4 separate regions of the Homo sapiens genome follow, and regions 1, 2 and 3 are each linked to region 4. The links are contacts of gene promoters, found by promoter capture Hi-C in blood cells and fetal thymus (Javierre and others, 2016). All regions are on one chromosome and are shown on one strand. The core of a region is centred on a gene start or on the middle of the fragment in contact, and the rest is flanking DNA. Distances in the headings are between cores, read along the strand shown.

Region 1 (3,101 bases), core at 369-2,868, 140 kb before region 4:
GAGCATCCTGGCCAACATGGCAAAACCATGTCTCTACTAAAAATACAAAAACTAGCCAGGCATGATGGTGCATGCCTATAGTCCCAGCTACTTGGGAGGCTGAGGCAGAAGAATCGTTTGAACCCTGGAGGCGGAGGTTGCAGTGAGCCAAGGTCGTGCCACCGTACTCCAGCCTGGGCAACAGAGTGAGACAACATCCCCCGCCCAAAAAAATCAGGAAAACAGTTCATGATCAGAATGAAAAAAAATCAGTAAAGAGATGGATATCATAAAAAAAAACACATAAATTTTGGAGCTGAAGACTTAATAAATGATTTTTTTTTTTTTTTTTTTGAAACAGAGTCTTGCTCTTGTCACCCAGGCTGGAGTGCAATGGCATGATCTTGGCTCACTGCAACCTCTGCCTCCCAGGTTCAAGCAATTCTTCTGCCCCAACCTACTGAGTAGCTGGGATTACAGGCCCCTGCCACCATGCCCAGCTAATTTTTGTATTTTTAGTAGAGACGGGGTTTCGCCATGTTGGCCAGGCTGGTCTCGAACTCCTGACCTGGTGATCTGCCCACCTCAGCCTCCCAAAGTGCTAGAATTACAGGCGTGAGCCACCGATCCCGGCCAATAAATGAAATTTAAAATATAATTGAGAGCTTCAACAACAAACTAGGTCAAGCAGAAGAAAGAATTTCTAAACTTGAAGACAGGTCTCTTTTGAAATAACTCAATCAGACAAAAAATAAAATAAAAAAGAATGAAGGAAGCCTACAAGACCTATGGGACATTGTTAAGCAAACAGATATTCCAATTTCCAAAAGGAAAAGAGATGAGAAAAGACACAGAAATCCTATGTAATAAAGTAATAGCTGAGAACTTCCAAAGTCTCGGGAAAGGTATGGACATCCAGATTCAGGATGCTCAAAAGTCCCCAAATAGATTCAACCCAAAAAGGTCCTCTCTGTAGCACATTCTGGTCAAACTGTCAAAAGTTGAAGACCATGAGGGAATTTGAAAAACAGCAAGAGAAAAGCATCAAGTCACATATAAGGGAATCCCCATTAGACTAATAGAAGACTTCTCAGCAGAAACCTTATATTACAGGAGCGAATGGGATGATATATTCTAAGTGATGAAAGAAAAAAACCTGGCAGCCAAGAATACTGTAACAGCAAATCTATCCTTTAGAAATGAAGGAGTCATAAAGTCTTTCCCAGACAAGCAAAAACTGAGGGAATTTATTACCACTAAAGTAGCCTTACAAGAAATCCTCAAGGAGTAGTAAATCAGCAAATTATCTGAATAGGCATTTCTCAAAAGAAGACATACAAATGACCAACAAGTATATATGAAAAATATTCAACATCATTAATCATCTGGCAAATGCAAATTGATACTACAATAAGATATCATCTCACTCCACTTAGAATGGCTGTTATCAAAGAGAAAAAATAACAAAAGCTGGCAAGGATGCAGAGGAAAAGGAACTCTTATACACTGTTGGTGGAAATGTAAATTAGTACAATCATACTGGAAAACAGTATGGAGGCTCCTTAAAAACACCTAAAAATAGAACTATCCTATCTATGATCCAGCAATACACTCTAGGGTATATATTCAGAGGACAGGAAATGAGTATGTCAAAGAGATATCTGTACTTATATGCCAAAGATAAGGTAAGCATGGTTACTATAGTTGATAGTGAAGTCAAAATAGTAATAAGAATAATGTGACTCAAAGAGACCTTTGGCATTCACTACTTTATCATGGTATGCCTCGAAATGAAATAGATGGGGGAGCCTACTAAACTCTTGCTTGATCTGTCTAGGTGGGTAAGTTCTGAGTCTGGCAGACTTGCAGCACCATTCTCAATAGCCAAGATATGGAATCAACGTAAGTGTTTTTCAAGAGATGAATGGATAAAGAAAATGTGGTACAGATACACAATGGAATACTATTCCACCGTAAAAATAATGAAATCTTGTCATTTGTGGCAACATTAATGAGCCTGTAAGACATTATGTTAGGTGAATTAAGCCAAGCATGGGAAGATAAATACCACATATTCTCATTCATATGTGGAAGCTAAGAAAGTTGATATCATAGAAGTAGAGAATGTAATAGTGGTTACTAGAGGCTGGATAGGGGTTGAAGGGGATAGGAAGATGTTGGCAAATGGATACACAATTACAGCTAGATAGGAAAAATAACTTCCAGCATTCCTTAGCACTGTAGGATGACTATAATTAGCAATGATTTATTGCACCATTCCTCAGGACAATCAACCAGTCTGCTGATGGCTAATTAATTACGTCGAACTGTCTCTTTTTTAATTTTCTTTTCTTTTTTGAGACAGAGTCTCGCTCTTGTCACCTAGGCTTGAGTGCAATGGAACAATCTCGGCTCATTGCAACCTCCACCTCCCAGGTTCAAGAGATTCTCCTGCCTCAGCCTCCTGAGTAGCTGGGATTATAGGCATCCATCACCACACCCAGCTAATTTTCATATTTTTAGTGAAGACAGGGTTTCATCATGTTGGCCAGGCTGGTCTCAAACTGCTGACCTCAGGTGTTCCACCCATCGCAGCCTCCCAAAATGTTGGGATTACAGGTGTGAGCCACTGCGCCCAGCCACATTGAACTGTTCCTGTCATGGAAAGGGCAACTCTTTTTTCTTATTTTAATTTTTTAATTTTTGTAATAGAATTCGCTTACCATACAATTCACATGCCATACAGTTCACACATTTAAAGCATACAAGCCGATCTGATTATTTCACATTGCATGCCTGTATCAAAACATCTCATGTTCTCCATAAATAAATACACCTATGATGTACCCACAGCAATTAAAAATTTTTAAAAATCATGTACAAGTCAATGGTTTTTAGTATATCCATAGATATGTACAGCCATCATCACGATCAATTTAAAAACATTTTTTTTTTTTGAGAGAGAGTCTTGCTCTGTCACCCAGGCTGGAGTGCAGTGGCATGATCACGGCTCACTGCAAACTTGGCCTCCCGGGTTTACGCCTTTCTCCTGCCTCAGCCTCCCGAGTAGCTGGGACTACAGGTGCCCGCCACCACGCCCAGCTAATTTTTTGTATTTTTAG
Region 2 (3,433 bases), core at 446-2,945, 230 kb after region 4:
TGTCAACACAGCTGCGCCTCTGGCTGCATTCGTGACTGTATCTGTGGTTCTTTTCTGTCTGTCTGCCATGGGGTCTATCTGAGGGGGTTTATTTGTCCGTGTCTGTTTAGGGGCACGTGTCTGTGATTCAAGTTTGGCCAGATACCTGTTCTGTTTCCATCTCTGTCTGAGTATCTGTATCTGAGTCATGTGTGTGCATGGGTCGGCCCGGGCCTACCTGAGTGTCCGCCTGTGTGTGCATGGCTGTATGTCCATTTAGGTCTGTTCACCTGCCTGCCACCCATGTGTCCTGCACTGGCTGTCATTGCACACACAGGTCTTGTCTGTCACTCTGTGCCCAAGAGTGTCTGTGGTGGTCTCTGTCCCTCCTGTCCATCTGCAAGCAAGTGTCTCTGGGCACCCTGTGGATGGGTACCCTGGGCTGTGGACTTACAATGTCAGTGCAGAGTTCGATGAAGAGGATGGTGATGCACCCGAGGGGCAGGGGCACGCTGACGGTGATGTAGATGAGGTAGGGTGTCAGCTCTGGGATGTTCTTGGTCAATGTGTAGGCAATAGACTTCTTCAGGTTGTCGAAGATCAGTCGACCTGTGGGGTAGGGTGGGCACCTCAGCCTCCTCACAGCCCTCTCCCTCCTGTGCCCACACTGCCTGCCCTCCCCCTGGCGTGGCTCGGACCCTGCTCCACGCCTGTCACAATGGAGGCAAAGTTGTCATCCAGCAGGATCATGTCAGCTGCATTTTTGGCAGCATCTGAGCCAGCGATGCCCATGGCTACTCCGATGTCTGCCTTCTTCAGAGCTGGGGAGTCATTCACACCATCCCCCGTGACGGCCACAATCGCACCCTGCAGGCAGTGGGTGCAGGTGGTGGGTGGGTGGTCAGTGAGAGGCCGGTCCAAGACCAGCCCCGCCTGTCTGCCCGCCTGCCCACCCTCATCAGCAGGGCTCACCAGCCGCTGGCAGCTCTCCACGATCACCAGCTTCTGCTGGGGGCTGGTGCGCGCAAACACCATCTCGGGGTGGGTGCGCAGGGCCTCGACCAGTTCCGATGGGTCCATGTCCTTCAGCTGCATGCCATTGATCACACAGGCACGGGCATCCCTGGGGAGGAGATGGGAGGACCTCGCTGGGACCTCGGTCTGTGCCAGATGTGGGGAGAACCCCGGGGAGGTCTGGGGGGGCTTACTTGCGATTAACCTGGTCTACGGGCACACGGAGGCGGGCAGCGATGTCCTCCACTGTCTCGCTGCCTTCCGAGATGATGCCCACACTGGCTGCAATGGCCTTGGCGGTGATGGGGTGGTCACCCGTTACCATGATCACCTGTAGGGGGAACCAGTGGATCACTGACCCCTTCAGATCAGCCCAATCTCCCTGTCCTCCCTGGGAGACATCTGCTGATACACGTGTTCATTTACTTGACCAAGCGTGACCACCTCCTACGTGCCTGGGATATAGCAGAGACAAAAGAGACAAAAATCCCTGTCCTTGAGGAGCTCTAGTGAGGGTGACAGAAAATAAAGAAACGAATTATATAGTGTGTTAGAAAGTGGAAAAAAACATATTAAGCTTGGTGAAGGAAACGGTGACTCGATTTTAAGTGTACCCAGGGAAGGGCTTATTGAGAAGGTGATATCTGAGCAGAGACCTGTAAGAGGTGAGAGAGTCAGCCACGTGGAAAGCTGGGAGAAGAGTGCTCCTGGCAGGGAGAACAGCAGGTGCAAAGGCCCTGAGGTGAGGACAGGCCCGAACTGTCGGAGGAACAGCAGGGAGGACACCATAACTGCAGAGGAGTGAACAAGGAAAGAGGGCTAACGAACAAGCTTAGAAAGGTAACAAGGCCCGATGTAACAGGGCCGTAGAGACACGGGAAGGGCTTGGGCATTGCCTGCCTGGCCTTGGCTTTCCCACCCTTGTTTTGTGTTTGGGGAACCACTCCTCTCCCCTACACCATCAGTTGCAGTGAGGTCCCTGGCTAAGATTGGGTAAGTAAGCCCAGACCTGGCCAATCAAGGTCTTCCATCCCCCAGCCCCAGTGACTGGCTCAGGGATAAATGAGTGACCCAATCCAGTGCTACTGCAAAAGAGGCACTCTCTTTTTGTGGGGTGGCTAAGCAGGTGGGAGTTAAGTTTGAGCTGCTGGAGCAGGGGTGTGTGTGTCCCCAAGTGAAGGGAGTGCCTGCAAATAAAGCCAGCAAAGAGAACAGCAGAGCTGAGACATGGAGAAAGGAAAATTCCTAATGACACTGAGCTCCTGGATCTGGCTAGACCTGAAGCTTAATTCCCCAGAATTTTTCAGTATCATAAACCAATGCATTTTGGTTCAAGCCAGTTTCAGGTGGGTTTGTCATGGGGTTCTTCAACCCAAATCCTGCTGCCATCCTCTGTCCTCACTCCACTTGTTCCTCCCCACAGTGGCATACCCGGATGCCTGCGGTGCGACACTTGAGCACAGCATCAGGGACGGTGGCCCGGGGTGGGTCAATCATGGATACAAGTCCCGCAAAGCAGAGGCCGCTAGATGGAAAGTTCATGGCCTCTACGTCGAAGGCATAGCCAGGCGGGTAGTCCTTCTCATTCAGGTAGAGCTGGCAGAAGCCTGACCGGAAACGGGGAAGTCAGGGAAGAGCCCTGGGCACACCCTTTCTTAGCAGGGCCAGGAAATGGGTAAAATAACCAGGCCCCTTGCACCAAACACCTATGGATGCCTGACCTTGTGCTGACCCCTTCACTCACATTATCTGAATCTACCCTCACAACCACCCTGTGAGGCCCATTCTCATCTTACAGATGAGGAAACTGAGGCTCAGAGAGGGGACATTTCTTGCCAGAGGTCACACAGCAAGTAAAAGGCCCAGAATTGGACCACAGATCTGCTTTCTAGGGTAGAGGCAGCGAAGTTTAAGGCGTCAGGACAAAAATTGGGAGAGGTTAGAGGTCAGGATACGGATAAAAGTCCAGGTGAGGACTGGGGTCAAGGTAGAAAGTGAGGACAGACAGGGGTCAGGACTGGTACAGGGAAAGTCAAGGGTGAGGCTGTGGACTGCGACAAATCAGCCAGCAGCCAGGGATGAGGACGGTCAGGGCTGGGCCGGGAGTGGTGGGCAGGGTCTGTGCTAGCTCCTCCTCGCACCTGGAGTCTCCTCCCCTGCCCAGGGGTCTCACCGAGCACGCGTTCGCCCAGGCCTCCCAGGCTGAGGTAGGCGGTCTGGAAGGCCTCGCGCCACTGCTCGTCCAGCGGCAGCTCCTGGCCCTTGATAAGGATGGAGCTGCAGCGCTCCAGCACGCGCTCGGGGGCGCCCTTCATCACCAGCAAGTGTCGCGGGTCCCGCGGGTCCTCCAGCGTATGGATGGACAGCTGTGGGCGGGGGGGAGAGGCGAGGCTGTGGACGGGGGAACGGGGCGGGGCTGTGGACGAGGGAACGGGGCGGG
Region 3 (3,358 bases), core at 363-2,862, 230 kb before region 4:
GAGCAGGTAGACTGGAGAGGAGGCTGACAGAATTGTTCAGGCAGAACGTGGCAGTGGTTGGAATCAGGAAGAGGGCAGTAGAGGGAGTGAGACATGGTTAGATTCTGGAAATATTTTGAAAGGATCAGCTGTGGGATGAGAGAGAGGGCAGGTTCCAACATGATTTGGTTTTTGGCCTCCGCGTCCTGGACAAGCTGCCACTGCCTGAGATGGAGAAGGTAGGAGAGGAAGCTTGGGGTAAGATTAGGAGTTCAGATTTGAACGTGGGGAGTTCGAGGTGCCTCTTTTCTCCCAGAGCTGGGACACAGCAGGATGCAGACACCTGGAGTTCTAGGACTGGTGAGGGCATTTGGGAATTGTCAGAATACAGCTGGGGTTTAAAGCCAGGCAAGTGGATGAGAAAAGTAAGGGAAGGGAAACGAAGGGGAAGGGGCTAAGGTGAACTTGGCAGTGTGAGGTGTGAGGTCCTTGGTGGCATGGAGCAGACAGCTCGGCTTGGAGATTCATACACCTTACCTGCTGTGGGGTCATGAGGAGTGTATGGATGGCACTAGGGGGTGGGAGATGGTAGGGGGAAATGGATCCTGAGCTCTTCCCCTGCACTGCAGGTGGACAGCCAGGCGGTAAGCAGGGCCTGGTGCTCCTGCAGGTGGGCACCTGGCTCCAGGTACAGTTCAATGGCCACAATATGCTGTTGGTGTGCGTGGGGCCTGAGTTCTGGAGCCACCTCTGCGGACTCTGTGGCAACTTCAGTGGCGACCCCAGTGATGACAAGGTGCTCCCCAGCAGGGTGCCCACCCTCAGTGATGCCATCTTTGGCAACGCCTGGTGGACCCAGGACAGCCGGCCTGGGTGGGTGGCTGCCTGGGACCAGGAAGGGCCCGGGTTGGGAGAAATACAGGGCTCAGGGAAAACAGTGGGCAGACAGGCAGGCTTTGAGAACAGAAAGGTGGAAGAAGAGGGTGTGAATTGCACACACAACTCTCAGGAGATTGATTCAGGTAGAATCAGGAACAATGATTATACCCTTTCACGGATGGGGAAGACTGAGGCATGGAAGGGCGAAGCATCTGCCCAAGTTCCCACAATAAGAAATGATGGAACGGGCCGGGCATGGTGGTTCTTGTCTGTCATCCCAGCATTTTGGGAGGCCAAGGCAGGAGGATCACTTGAGCTAAGGAGTTTGAGACCAGTCTGGGCAACATAGCAAGATCTCGTCTTTATTAAAAAAAAAAAAAAAAAAATTAGCCAGGCCTGGTGGTGGTGCACACCTGTATTCTCAGCTACTTGGAGGCTGCGGCAGGAGAATCTCTTGAGTCCAGGAGTTCGAGGTTGCCATGAGCCATGCTGGCACCACTGCACTGCATCCTGGGTGACAGAGCGAGACCCTATCAAAAAAGAGGGGAAAAAAATGGTGGAACAGGGATTTGAGTCCAGGCATTCTGGCTTCAGGGTCCCTGATCCTAAATACTCCACCCCCCCACCTCTCACAGGGGAAACAGGAAGCACTCCTCACAGAGACCTTATTTATTTATTTATTTATTTATTTATTTTTGATTCCTGCTCCGTCGCCCAGGCTGGAGTGCGGTGGCACGATCTCGGCTCACTGCAACCTCCGCTTCCCAGGTTCAAGTGATTCTCATGCCTTAGCCTCTCGAGTAGCCGAGATTACAGGCACACGCCACCATGCTCGGCTAATATTTATATTTTTAGTAAAGATGAGGTTTCACCATGTTGGCCAGGCTGGTCTTGAACTCCTGACCTCAAGTGGTCTGCCCACCTCGGCCTCCCAAAGTGTTGGAATTACAGCCATGAGTCACCGTGCCAGTCTCCCTTCACTGAGACCTTAGTCCTGCAAAGTCCAATGCACCAAACACACGTGCTATTTAAATTTATGTGTAAATTAAATTAAACATCTTCTGTCACACTACCTATATTTCAAATACTCGGTAGCCTCTGGTTGCTAGTGCCTGCGGTATTGGATGGCACAGACTTGGGGATTCGTCCAAGTAGCAGAGCTGGGATCTGAAGCTAACAAAGTTGGTTCCAGAATCCAGGATCTAACTAATAACTATCCTGGCTGGGCGTGGTGGCTCACACCTGTAATCCCAGCACTTTGGGAGGCCAAGGTGAGCAGATCACCTGAGGTCAGGAGTTCAAGACCAGCCTGGCCAACATGGCAAAACCCCGTCTCTACTAAAAATGCAAAGATTAGCCGGCTGTGGTCGTGGGTACCTGTAGTCCCAGCTACTTGAGAGGCTGAGGCAGGAGAATCGCTTGAACCCGGGAGGCAGAGGTTGCCAAGAGCTGCGATCGCGCCACTGCACTCCAGTCAGGGTGACAGAGCGAGACTCTGTCTCGAAAAAAAAAAAAAAATTAATGACTCCCTCATGTTGAGTAACTGTATGAAAATCATTTGTTACTATGGGGTTGAGGTTTTTAAACGTGTCTAAAACTGCACCAGGAGCTGTCAGCTGCTGGGAGGGAGAACCTGGTGCGGGCAGAGGAGGACTAGCCAAGGGTGGCCAGGGGGGAGGCAGGAGGAGGAGGAGGCTTGGAGGTGGTGGTGTTGAGTCCTGTGATCCCCCAGCTGCCGGCGGGACCCTGGTGGCGCTGAGCCCTGCCAGGACAGGCCCCGGGTGGAGCAGCTCTGCAGTGTTCTGGCAAACCGCTCCGGGCCCTTGGCCAAGTGCCACTGGTATGAGAGCCCCGTGTCCTACACGCAGGTGTGTGTCTCTGACCTCTGCCAGTATGGCACGGGCAACCGCATGCTGTGCACCATGCTGGAGGCCTACGTCCAACTCTGCGCCCTGCGCTGCGCGTTGCCTGCCCGCGTGGCGAGCCAGCCTGGGATGCAGTTACGTGCTCCTTCCCTTTCACCGCCCCCAGCTCCAACGATGGCCTCCCCACTTGGCTAGCTAGGATGCCTCCTTCGCCGGTGGATCGGAAGCCCTCATCCCCAGGGAGACCCCAGCCCTGCCTAGGATGTTAACCCAAGCTTCAAGCCAGACCAGGGCTCCTCTTGGGCCCTTCCTAATCCTACCTCTCACCTCCCAGCACTGGACCCTATATTGTCCGAGTTGCTCACTGTGTGCTGCAAGTTTGAAGTGGCCTGTGGGTGTGACATGCATAACAAACCACGTGGTTAAAAGTTTCATCGGAACAATCGGGAGGCTGCAGTGAGCTGAGATCATGCCATTGCACTTGGCCTGGGCAACAGAGCAAGACCCTGTCTGGAAAAAAAAAAAAAAGAACAGTGGCAGTTTGGGAATCGTCCTGTGGTTCATTCCTGCCCTTCCCTCCCCTGCACTCACCCTGATTTTTTTCTCCCTCTAATTGAGGGAGCAAAGGTTTCAGG
Region 4 (3,271 bases), core at 772-3,271:
TCTAGGATGCCCCTTTCCTCGTTCTTTGGCTAGAAAAGCATAGTTTTGCTAGAACTTGTTCTGTTGGGACTTTTTCTTGTTTGTGCCCCTTGGCATTTTCAGTTGTTGGCTTCTCCAGTATTCAGCCTGAGATATATGAGGCAAAGAGAAATCCCAGGGAATTCACCACCATTCCTTAAGTCCCGAGGTTCCTAACCAGTCTGCTTCTCTCCATCTTTCAGTCTTCTTATGCTTGTCTTGTCACGTTCAAGGTTTTCAGTTATACTTGGCAGAATAAATAAATACATCTACTCCATCTTTCCAGAACATCACTGCTTTTTGTTCATTTTATTTATTTATTATTTACTGAGACAAGGTCTTACTTTGTTGCCTGGGCTGGAGTGCAGTGGTGCTATCATGGCTGACTGAAGCCTTGAACTCCCAGGCTCAAGCGATCCTCCTGCCTCAGCCTCCCAAGTAGTTTGGACCACAGGCATGGGCCACCATGCCCAGCTACTTTTCATTTTTTGCTTTTGTTGACTAGCCCCACAGAGTTTTGCTGTGTTGTTCAGGTTGGTCTCAAACTTCTGGCCTTAAGCAATCCTCTTGCCTTGCTCTCCCAAAGCGTATTACAGGCATAAGTCACCACACCCAGCCCTATCGGTGCTTTTGGAAGAAGGTGTTCTTCCCTCTCTCTGTTTCCCTCCCTATGGCCAGCTGCCCATAGAGGGCAGTGGTGCTGGAGTGAAGACCTCTCAGCGCATCCCTCTTCATCTGTAGGATGTGCATGGCTTCCAATGCTGTCTGTTCTGCTCCTGAGACACTCGCTGGCTACAGGATTATAAAGGTGATGAGGTTTCAGCCTAAAGACTCTCCATTCAATAACACTTCCTACAAGATATCTTTTTTGTTTTTTTGAGACAGGATCTGGCTCTGTCACCCAGGCTGGAGTGCCACAGCGCGATCTGCTCACTGCAACCTCAGCCTCTCGGGCTTAAGTGATTCTCCTGCCTTAGCCTCCTGAGTAGCTGGGACCACAGGCGCCCGCCACCACACCCAGCTAATTTTTGGATTTTTTTTTTTTTTTTTTTTAGTAGAGATGGGGTTTTACCATGTTGCCCAAGCTGGTCTTGAACTCCTGAGCTCAGGCAATCCACCCGCCTTGGCCACCCAAAGCGCTAGGATTACAGGCATGAGCCACCATGCCCAGTCCTACAAGATATCTTTTCTTTTTCTTTCTTTCTTTCTTTCTTTCTTTTTTTTTTTTTGAGACAGAGTCTCACTCTGTCACCCAGGCTGGACTGCAGTGGTGTGATCTCTTCTCACTGCAGCCTCCGCCTCCTGGGCTCAAGTGATTCTCCTGCCTCAGCCCCCTGAGTAGCTGGGACTACAGGCGCCTGCCAAAACACTTAGCTAATTTTTTGTATTTTTAGTAGAGACGGAATTTCACCATGTTCGCCAGGCTGGTCTCGAATTCCTGACCTCAAGTGATCCACCCGCCTCAGCCTCCCAAAGTGTTGGGATTCCAGGCATGAGCCACCGCACCCGGCCGAGATATCTTTTTCCTCCTCAATATCTATGTGCTCCTCCCTCAACCCTTGGGGGCTTCAGTGTAGGTGGTCAGATTCCCCACCATTTATGCCTATGATGAAAAGAGTGGAAATGGTAATAACTGGATGGTGTCACTAAACTACAAATACTTTCAGGTAGGCCTGTGCCTTTTTCAGCGGGCTGCAGTTCTCCTGCTTGGCTTGAGTCATTCGCATTTCCTGAGAGCTGGGTAGAGGGGGAGTTGTGGAGGAGCCCATTCTGAAACTGATCTGATATTGCAAACCCATACACGGAAAGGAAGAACTGCCCATACGTATTCGAGTCTTCCAATCTGACTCCGAGCCCGCATCCCCCTCAATCGTCTCTTTTCCCCACTCCCCAGATCACGGTGCTGCTTGGTCCCCCTCAGAGCCATAGAGAAGCAGGGGGTGTGGCCATGGAGGGGAAACCTCTGTCACCAGAGACTTTACTGTACTTCTCCTTTTGCTCTCAGATGCTGCCAGGGTCCCTGAAGAGGGAAGACACGCGGAAACAGGTAAAAATCATTTTGCTTTTATTTTGCATTCAACAAGCAAGTTATTACGGAACAGCAGTTATGGGCCAGGCATACCTCCCAGAGCTGGGAACACAGTGGGGACCTCCCTGGCTCTCTCTTACCGGTGTTACAACAGGTTGTAGACAGACCCCTGTCTTGAGCATCCTCCTTGCCAGGCCTGCTGAGTCTTCTGAGAGTAGGGTAGGTTATTGGATGCCCAGGAGGGAAGAAGGAGCCAGGGAGGTCAGCCCCAAGGTTCTGCAAGGCCCTCAACAGGCCTGGACTGAGGAGGTCTGGACAGCATGGCCCTGTCCTGAGCCTCTGTGCATAATAACTGCTGTCCCTAACCTCCACCCCACCCTCAGCCTTCCAATTCCCGGGCCTGGGGCCCTACTCCTGTGCTCCAGAGACTCCTGGAGCTCCTTGAGGCAGCACACAGTCCTGCTCTGGAGGCGCCCATCTCCCACTCATGCTGGGATGCTCCAGCCCGTCCCAGAGCAGGTTGTGGCTGGAGGGTGCTGGCAGAGGAGGGACAATGGCCCGGCTCCTGGAGGCAAGTGTTGGCTGCAGGGAACGGAGTCTAGTCCTTGCCACAGCCCTTGTTACCCCTTAGGTAACCTTAAGGGGATTTCAAAGAACTCTGGCTCTGCAACCCTGCTAAGTTTTTTATGGAACATGTAAAATAGATCCCATGGCCAAAGAAGTATGGACAATGTATTATACTATACTCTAATCCCCATGTCTAGAGATTAATGGTGTAGATAGAGTTTACTGAAAGGTTTTTAAAGTCCTGCAGTAAAGAATCTTACTTAAGCCAGGTGCGGTGGCTCACGCCTGTCATCTCAGCACTTTGGGAGGCCAAGTTGGGGGGATCACCTGAGGTCAGGAGTTTGAAACCAGCCTGGCCAACATGGTGAAACCCCATCTCTACTAAAACAAACAAACAAACAAACAAATCAGACGGGTGTGGTGGCACATGCCTATAGTCCCAGCTACTCAGGAGGCTGAGGCAGGAGAATCACTTGAACCCTGGAGGCAGAGGATGCAGTGAACTGAGATCACACCACTGCACTTCAGCCTGGGCGACAGAAGAATGAGACTCTGTCTCAAAAGAAAAAAAAAGAATCTTACTTAACTCTTTTACCCTGCCTTTCTCAAGTGTATGTGACCTTGAAGATGTTTTTTGCATGTGACATGATGAGTACC

What was found. Contacts are between HindIII fragments. The CHiCAGO score rates a contact against its expected background, and 5 or more counts as called.
Region 1: a fragment that was not itself captured here is called in contact with the fragment with the promoter of CD22 in region 4 in 1 of 17 cell types (monocytes); the score reaches 7.9 in monocytes.
Region 2: a fragment that was not itself captured here is called in contact with the fragment with the promoter of CD22 in region 4 in 1 of 17 cell types (M1 macrophages); the score reaches 6.8 in M1 macrophages.
Region 3: a contact is called between a fragment that was not itself captured here and the fragment with the promoter of CD22 in region 4, in 1 of 17 cell types (total CD4 T cells). The highest score is 6.1, in total CD4 T cells.

What each region holds. Positions count from the first base shown.
Region 1 is chr19:35,183,385-35,186,485 of GRCh38, forward strand. No RefSeq gene overlaps it. Among named protein-coding and RNA genes, the nearest start is that of FXYD5, 30 kb to the left of the region's middle. The HindIII fragment of the contact is 8,299 bases long and covers 1-3,101 here.
Region 2 is chr19:35,554,489-35,557,921 of GRCh38, forward strand. It overlaps ATP4A (ATPase H+/K+ transporting subunit alpha), which reads right to left. Exons shown (of 22, transcript NM_000704.3): 11 at 3,167-3,359; 12 at 2,425-2,600; 13 at 1,188-1,324; 14 at 952-1,102; 15 at 678-846; 16 at 434-588. Among named protein-coding and RNA genes, the nearest start is that of ATP4A, 7.5 kb to the right of the region's middle. The HindIII fragment of the contact is 254 bases long and covers 1,569-1,822 here.
Region 3 is chr19:35,096,155-35,099,512 of GRCh38, forward strand. The region is part of intron 1 of LOC124904701 (hepatitis A virus cellular receptor 1-like); the gene reads left to right. It overlaps HPN-AS1 (HPN antisense RNA 1), which reads right to left. Exons shown (of 4, transcript NR_024562.1): 2 at 3,051-3,233. Among named protein-coding and RNA genes, the nearest start is that of HPN-AS1, 8.5 kb to the right of the region's middle. The HindIII fragment of the contact is 2,767 bases long and covers 230-2,996 here.
Region 4 is chr19:35,327,166-35,330,436 of GRCh38, forward strand. It overlaps CD22 (CD22 molecule), which reads left to right and starts at 2,022. Exons shown (of 14, transcript NM_001771.4): 1 at 2,022-2,065. RefSeq lists enhancers at 2,599-2,648, 2,719-2,768. The HindIII fragment of the contact is 19,927 bases long and covers 1-3,271 here.